Regions from separate parts of the Homo sapiens genome. Here region 2 is linked to region 1. The links are contacts of gene promoters, found by promoter capture Hi-C in human tissues and cell types (Jung and others, 2019). All regions are on one chromosome and are shown on one strand. Each heading gives the region's core, a stretch centred on a gene start or on the middle of the fragment in contact. The rest is flanking DNA. Distances are from core to core; before and after follow the strand shown. Region 1 holds the start of ITM2B (integral membrane protein 2B). Region 2 overlaps FNDC3A (fibronectin type III domain containing 3A).

Evidence for each region. Contacts are between HindIII fragments. The study calls those that stand out against the background at their distance.
Region 2: a fragment that was not itself captured here is called in contact with the fragment with the promoter of ITM2B in region 1 in 2 of the 25 tissues and cell types used here (H1 embryonic stem cells and dorsolateral prefrontal cortex).

What each region holds. Positions count from the first base shown.
Region 1 is chr13:48,231,388-48,235,506 of GRCh38, forward strand. It overlaps ITM2B (integral membrane protein 2B), which reads left to right and starts at 1,819. Exons shown (of 6, transcript NM_021999.5): 1 at 1,819-2,090. The coding sequence starts at 1,974. RefSeq lists silencers at 1,695-2,054, 2,065-2,274 and an enhancer at 2,330-3,027. The HindIII fragment of the contact is 16,899 bases long and covers 1-4,119 here.
Region 2 is chr13:49,079,355-49,083,473 of GRCh38, forward strand. The region is part of intron 3 of FNDC3A (fibronectin type III domain containing 3A); the gene reads left to right. Among named protein-coding and RNA genes, the nearest start is that of FNDC3A, 110 kb to the left of the region's middle. RefSeq lists enhancers at 3,268-3,517, 3,708-3,767, 3,978-4,067. The HindIII fragment of the contact is 8,841 bases long and covers 1-4,119 here.

The DNA.
Region 1 (4,119 bases), core at 569-3,068:
TCCCAGACCGGTTGCCAACTGATTTTAAACTGTTGCTCACTGCAAGTACACAAAATAATGAATGGTCTTTTATTCATGAGTCTTTCAAAATAGAAATCCTGGGGCGGGGAGGATTTCTAGTTTTGTCAACCTCATTTGTTCATCCTTTGCCTCAGCTTCCTAGTCTGTTCAGTAGTGTTGTTCACGAAGAATTTTGTTTTATTTTCTTCTGTAATTCCTTTTTTCCCCCCGGAGTATAATGACAGCCAGATTCTTCTCTATCATCTACTGCAAAATGCCTTGAGTATTTTTCTACCATCTTATTTTAACACAGAACGAAGTAGGAAGGATGTACATATAATTATTTATAATCCTCCAGATCTTGCTTCCAGAAATACTTAGTCTTCAACTGTAATGTCTCAGGGAACCTATTAAACTAGGGAGCTGGAAGCAGTCGTTGACTTTGAGGAATTAGATAACATTAGATACTATGAAAGTCCAGTCCATAGAGTCAACCTCACAGAGCCGATGCCTGCACAAGGGCGACCCAGGAGTTTAAATAAGTTGCTGCAAGTATGGTTAGCTACTGTTAAAACTCACCAGAACTGGAACCTAACTCATCCTCCTCTTGGTTGAGCAGATTTCATTTTGACAGGAATTTCTGAATACCCAAAGCAAACTCAAAGTCTGGCCTGGGTTTCTATCTCAGCCCAGGATGCTTCTGAAATACATGAACAGAAGGATTTGGAGATCTTGGGCTGTTTCCCTGGGACTTATGATCTGACATTCTATGGAAATACCCAACTCCCTCCTTGAGCAGGGCCAAATCCCCAAAGATCTCAGACTGAACCCACTTTTTTCAGGGTTGGCCCAAGGCAGAGCTGACACAGCTGTAACATTCTAGAGCACACCCACAACTCTGGATGAACCAGGACAGAATGGGGTGGAAGGATACAAGATAACACATTTGTCCAAGGGGGCCGTCTGTTGACACAGTAATGAACGCAGTAACGACGGGAGCCAGTATTCTACCTCGCATTAGTTGTAAATGAAACGTCTTCAAAACATGAGAATTTTGCGTTATCCTTAATTATTTTTTCATTTTGCAGAAAAATAAAGGGACTCGTCATCGAGTACTTTGAGTCACAAATCAGCCAAGTGTGCATGTGGTTTTTTTCCAAGTACGCACAAGAGTGGAACATTTCGTTTTACGAGTGTGAGATGTTTGAAATACAAATCTGCCAAGAGCTTCCTCCACATTGGTCTGGGACTAGGCAGAACAGGCCCTGACCTCCTGAGAGAGGGAAGGAAGACCAGGCAGGTCTGAGCCAGGTAAACGCCCTTGGGTGAGGTCCGTGAAAGATAAAGTCAGATCTCAAGGACAGAGAGCTTTAAACATGTTTGTGCTCCACTGAGTCGGTTACCTAATAAGTGAGAAAATGAAGATGTGGATGCACAAAAATTCCATGGCCTTTAGGCTCGCGGTGGGGACAGGGTACAGGGAAGCGGCGGTCTGGTGCTGCCAAAGGTTAGTCCCTTGTACCCGGCGAACTCAGGAAAGTTCACTCGATTTCGCTACAAACCTGCAGCACTCGGCCTGGAGGTAACCTGGTTGGGAGCGAATTCAGAACTGGAAATTCCAGGCGGCCCAGAGGGACACCCATCCCTCTCCGAGGCGCGCCGGGATCCGGCGCCCAGCTGCGGGGCGAGGGCAGGGTCCCGCGCAGCACCCCACCCCCGGCCGCTGGCCCCGCCCCCGCCCCCGCCCCGCCTCCCAGGGGATGTGCGAGCAGTCTCCGCCCTCGCGCGGGAGCTGGGAGGCTGCGAGATCCCTACCGCAGTAGCCGCCTCTGCCGCCGCGGAGCTTCCCGAACCTCTTCAGCCGCCCGGAGCCGCTCCCGGAGCCCGGCCGTAGAGGCTGCAATCGCAGCCGGGAGCCCGCAGCCCGCGCCCCGAGCCCGCCGCCGCCCTTCGAGGGCGCCCCAGGCCGCGCCATGGTGAAGGTGACGTTCAACTCCGCTCTGGCCCAGAAGGAGGCCAAGAAGGACGAGCCCAAGAGCGGCGAGGAGGCGCTCATCATCCCCCCCGACGCCGTCGCGGTGGACTGCAAGGTCCGAGCCCGGGGAGGTCGAGGAAGCGGGTGCTGGGCCCGGCCGGGGAGGGCTGCGCGGACTGCAGCGGCAGTGCGCCCCGAGGTGGCGGGCGCGGGGCTCGCGCCGCGGGGACAAGTCCCCGAGAGAGCCCGGCGCTCCCGTTTCCTGTGGGTCCGCAGCTCCTTTGTAAGGAAGTGCGTGTGCTGGAAGCGGTGCCTGACGCGGGGTCGGGGGCTTGGGAGGCCTGGAGAGGGAACGATTGGCTAATTGTGCCGAATTCCCGGTCGTTTGTGCAGTCCGGGGAGCGTGCGTGCAGCCAGGACTTGGCTTGTTCGATCTGGGGACCGGCAGCGACAGGCACAACAACAACAACCGAGTTTGGCACTTCCTTCCCAGTATAAATAATGTACCTAAAATGGCTGACATCATTACAAGCCTAAACCTCTGTTGTTTCCCACTTTCGTTTCTAGGCTTGAACAGCACTTGGACTAAGTCCAGCAACTGTAAGCGTCTTAATTTTAAAAGCGTTTCTTTACCTCCTTTTTCCACGGCCCTTCGGTAGTGGCAGGTGAACTTCACCTGGAGAGGGGACGAAGGGACAGTCCGCCCGAAGTAGGTTTGGGCTGTCTCTTACCATTACTAGTAAAGGCCAGTAATGACTATGTGGATGTTAGTGAAAAACCAATTGTTGGCATTTAAATTGTATCAGCGTCTTTGTGAGGACTCCTGCTGCGTGAAACTAAACATGAGAAATTTGCCCCCGGGTCCCTAATAAAATTCTCCTTTATTTTACAAAATCTCCCTTTAATCCTAGGAAAATTCATGAAGTGGGGCTGTTACTGTGTTGACTTTTAGTAGGTTACGATCATATTTACTTAAATATGAGTGTAATTGTCTCATAAGTTAAAAAAGCCCACAGCCTCTTACCCAGACCCTTTTTAGGCTGCAAAAATTAGAAATTAACTGTAAAGTTATGTTGCTTATCTTATTTTTTGTTGTTGTTAGCATTTTTCAAGACCTATTATCAGTAGGGTAAATTTAGTTTTAACTTAAAAAAATTGGTGTGCCACGTATGAATAATGGGAGTTTTTATATGGACGAATGAAAATTATTGCTGAAAAACAGGCCACTAATATACTGTAAAAAATTCACAATATAATGGTAATCTAGACATCATATTATAATTTATTATATTCTGAATATAATCTATCTTCAGAATATAATGGTAATCTTACTTTCTGGAAATGTTCTGATAAAAACAGACACGTCAGAGGTTGATTTCTAAATGACTTGCCTTGCCTTGAAATAGGAACAGTGAACTGATTCCCTAAAAGGATTAAAGGTTTTGGTTTTCGTATTGGTATTGTTTTCCTGAAGCCATTGCAAACAATCTTGGTCTTTAAAGAAAATGTTTGGAATGCACAGATGAAAATTGCAGTAGCAAATTATTATGTTAGCTCTTTGTTTATCTAACATTCGTTGTACCTAAAATAGATTGAGAGTCAAGTATCCAGTCACAACAGTCTCAAATATATGTAGTCTTAATGCTATCACATATATATATATACACACATACATTTAAAAATCCTATTAACAAATATAACTGCTCCCATTTAGAAAGGAGAGAGTGAGCGAGCATTGGATGATGTCACTTCAGACAGCTTTTCTCTGTTCCGCTGTAGTGGAGATTTGAAACTCTGGACAAACATCAGAATTACATTTGCTGAGCACCATTAAATCTGACTTCTGACAATTTTTGTCATTTCTGAAATAGTGACTCTGCCAGATTCTCAAAATTGCTCACGAGTTCACCATATTTAAATTTTGTGGTCATTGCAGCTATAAGTAATCATTGGTAGCTCCGTGCTTTGTTTTCCATTTTTTATTTTCTCAGATCCTCCATATCCAAAGAAAAATACTACTGGGACTAAAGAGTGAGGGCCAGAGTCGTCTTTGTAAACCACCCAGCAGTCACGGATGAGTTGGTAGATAAAAAATGACTAATTCTTTTTCCAGCTATAAGCTGAAAGACTTCTTTAGGGGATGA
Region 2 (4,119 bases), core at 730-3,229, 850 kb after region 1:
ATTACAGTATAAAAAGAGATACACATAGGGTGTTATGGGAGCATAGAAGGAGGGTTACTATAACATTCAGTGGTATGTAAAGAAAAAATTATTCCAGGAGAAAATGACACATGAGCCTCCTCGAAGAACAGTGGCAGTTGGTCAGATGGACAAAGGGTCTCAAGGCACTTTAGACAGAGGGAAAGTGTTCAAAAGCAACAGAAGGAAAGAATGACTTGACTTATTTGAATAACCACAAAGAGATTGGAATTGCTAAAAAGTTGTGTAAATATGTGGTACCTGTTGAACCAAAAGTCTTCCTACTACAAACATCATTGGAAATGTTCAATAAAATAATAACATGTAATCTTTCAAATACACTCCTGAGCTTCTCTCTCTTCCCTTCACCCTATAAAAAGGAAAAAAAAGGTGGGGACTGGGGAAGAATCACTGTGGGCCAGAAACAAGGACTTTTCCACATTTATTTGTCTTCTATTTTAAGAGACAGGGTCTCTTTGTCACCCAGGCTGGAGTGTAGTAGCACAGTCATAGCTCATTGCAGCCTCAAACTCCTGGGCTCAGGTGATCCTCCTGCCTTAGCCTCCTGAGCAGTTAGGACTGCAGGTGCATGCCACCATGCTTTTATAGAGTTGAGTTCTCACTGTGTTGCCCAGGATGCTCTCAAACTCCTGGGCTCAAGCAATCGTCCCATCTCAGCCTCCCAAAGCACTGTGATTACAGGCATGGACAATTGTACCTGGCCCAATATTTGTTTCAAAAAATACAGTTTTCATATTTTTAATGAAAAGAATTAAAAATATCTACATTGTTCTTTTGATTTGATCATTTTCTATTGTCCCATACCATTTTTTCTGAGTCCTCTTCAGAATTTGATGTCTGTCTTCCCTTAGTTCTTTACCTTATTTCATGTCCTTTTGGATAAGGCACCACTCTTAAATATCTAAAAGTGTAGTCTTCTGTTTTGCTAGTTTTCCATTTTGGTCATTGGTTAGATCTGTTTATATTTCCTGATATGAACCCATACCTCATTTTTTCCCCCTTCTTTAACCATTATTCACTGGTTTTAACTTAAATTCTTGATTACTTTTGAAATGAGTGCTAGTTTGAGTCTGTCTCAGGTTTTTTCTGTTGAGAGGTATTTTGAAACAATCTAACTTGTTCTTACGTTTTCATAGTGAAGTGCTTTGATAGCATGTCAACAGATTGTCTTGTATATTGAGAGATACTGTGAAAATTAAGTATTTTGCCTAGTAACTGGTATGTAGAAATGTAAAAATTTATTGAATGGGGAGATTTTAGGTTTTATATTAATAGATCTTTGTAGCATGTGCTAAAGACTACCTTCTTAGTTTTATGTTGTGAAGAGTTATGAAAAATAGGGAATTAGGCAAGGTTTCTAAATTTGGGTTACTGGGAAGGTCATAGAAGCATATTTCATAGAGAATATGTAGTAAACACTTAAGAATCCTGTGTAGAGCTGGCTCTCCTGATGACAAATTGGTTCCTCTAGATATCATCTGTTCTGTGAAGCCCTTGCTTTAGTTTCTCTCCTCTTTTAGCTGTAGATACACATACAGAAATAATTGAAGGCAGATATTTTTACATATGTTTATAGCCCTGATGCTTTGTATGGCACCCAGCACATAGAGACTCTCAATAAACGTTTAAGGTGAGTGAAGAAGAGAAAACAACAGATGTTTCTTGAGCATTTATATGTGTCAAACAAGTAGATGTGTTATAGCCAACAGTTGTAGCTAAAAACCCTCCTTATGAGAGGCAGGTATGGCTTTTTCTCTTTTCGTCTGTGATACCTCAGAATGAATAAATGGGGCTAACGAGTAAGAATTTATTAACTATCTAGGGGTTTTGCATTGTTATGGCACTTCTACTTTGGTGTGATTCCATGCCACTACATGTAAGAGAGAAAATTATGAAAAGCAAAAAATACACAGACGAGCTATGCTTGAATAATTTTTATATGCTCTGGCTCCTTCAAATATTATGTTTTAGACAGACAAGCAAAAATATTGATGATTATTTAATACTTTAATAGGGCAGTAGTTAAGCAGAAGGGTACTTGGGTTTGAGTTCAAACTTTGCCACTTACTATTGTATCAGTCAGATTATATTCAGTATATATTGTGTCTTACACTTGTTTATGTAAATAGTGTGTGTCCGTGTGTATACACATCATGTAGGACTTAGAACATAATTTTGTCATAGAGAAGATTATTATTAGGCCGTATCTTTTGGGATATATTACTTATATCTGTGGAACCATAGAACCCAAGACCTACATCATATATAGTCTCTAATTACATTGATCATGGATTAACCACATCTACATTATAATTTTTCTGCAAAGTGGCTTCTACAAAAACAAAGACCTTATATTCTTCATCCATTCACTTATTCAGTATTCAGTGAGGGACAAAAATGAATAAGCACTGTTTATTTTCTCAAGCTTATTTGTCAGACTTTCTTATATACCTTTATAGGAAGATGAAATAAAATTTGATCATCAGACCGTTGCCAGTCTGCAACTTTGTCTCACGTTGTGTTACTCAGGATTTTGTTCTCTAGGGCTTTCTTTTGAGCCTGTTAAATCAGTACCTTTTTTTTTTTTTTTAACAAAAATAAAAACATGTTTATGAAATGTTTAAGTGTCAGAAAGTTGCTAACGTTAATAAATGTCAAACTCAAGAAGATCAGAACATATTGAAATGATAGGTCAAAAACAGTAGGATAGGCCCAGCACGGTGGCTCACGCCTGTAATCCCAGCACTTTGGGAGGCCGAGGTGGGGCGGATCACCTGTGGTCAGGAGTTCGAGACCAGTTGGACCAACATGATGAAACCCTGTCTCTATTAAAAATACAAAAATTAGCTGGATGTGGTGGCGCAAACCTGTAATCCCAGCTATTCGGGAGGCAGAGGCAGGAGAATCACTTGGACCCGGGAAGCAGAGGTTGCAGTGAGCTGAGATCCTGCCACTGCACTCCAGCCTGGGTGACAGAGTAAGACTCCATCTCAAAAACAAAAAAACCCAACAGGATAAAATTTAATAGGAGTAAATATAAAGTTCTACGTTTTGATTTTAAAAATCTAGGTACTGTATAGTGTGTATTAGTTGGGGTTCCTTTTTTGAAACTTAATCTTGCCTATAAAACACAAAAGAGTTTAAGATGATATTGAGACTCCTCCTGTCCTCATTCCTTTTCCTTCCTAATAGCTCAGTCCTGAAGCTCTTAGGTGAGGCAGAACAATATAGGCAGTGCACTAGTGGGAATGGGAGAGGTGAGCTGCAGTTCCCCAGAGTAGGATGTCAGAGCCCTAATTGAATGAGAACCATATCACATCAGAGAATAGCCAAGTATAGGGAGTTAGAGCCCAAGCAGACTGAAGAGGGAATTCACACAAGAAGGCAGCCTGGTATAGGGAGTCAGAGTATAAGGCTGAGGAGGATATCATCAAGAAGGTATGTAGTGTGGCATGTAAGAACTTGAGCAGGATGAGGCAGTCACTGACGCAATGCAATGATCCAGCATGGGGAATCAGAGCTCAAACAAGAGTGAGGAGGCCATCTGTGTGGAGGGGTAGCCTGACCTGGGTTGTAGGAGTCCCAGCATGGTCAGATAGTGCACAATCTGGGGATGTATTAGAGTGAAGAGTCAGAGCCCAACTAGGGTAAAAAGGGCATCCACACAGAGGTGGTCTAATTAGGAAGTCATCATCAATGCTGTGATTATACCCCTTCCCCTCCTCCACTAAGAACTCAGTATTACTTGCTTCTAGCACAGATACCACTTCTGCAACAGGAATTTTGTAGCCACCCACCACTGCCTGCCAAATTATCAGCACCTGTAGGAGTGATGGTCTTTATCTCACACCAAGGAGACTCCTCAAACACACAAAGGGACTTCAGATTCTATGCACTAAAACAAATGACAGCGTCCACTGCAGTGCAAGAGAAGACAACTTTATGAATAGAACTTGCTTATTTTAGCGGAACTAGAACTAAATATGAGTCATCTATTGAATCCCATTTGCAAAAGGGAAAACAAATGAAATCTTGGACTTCAAAAATAGAAATGCAAGTTCAAAACAGATGGTGGTGTAT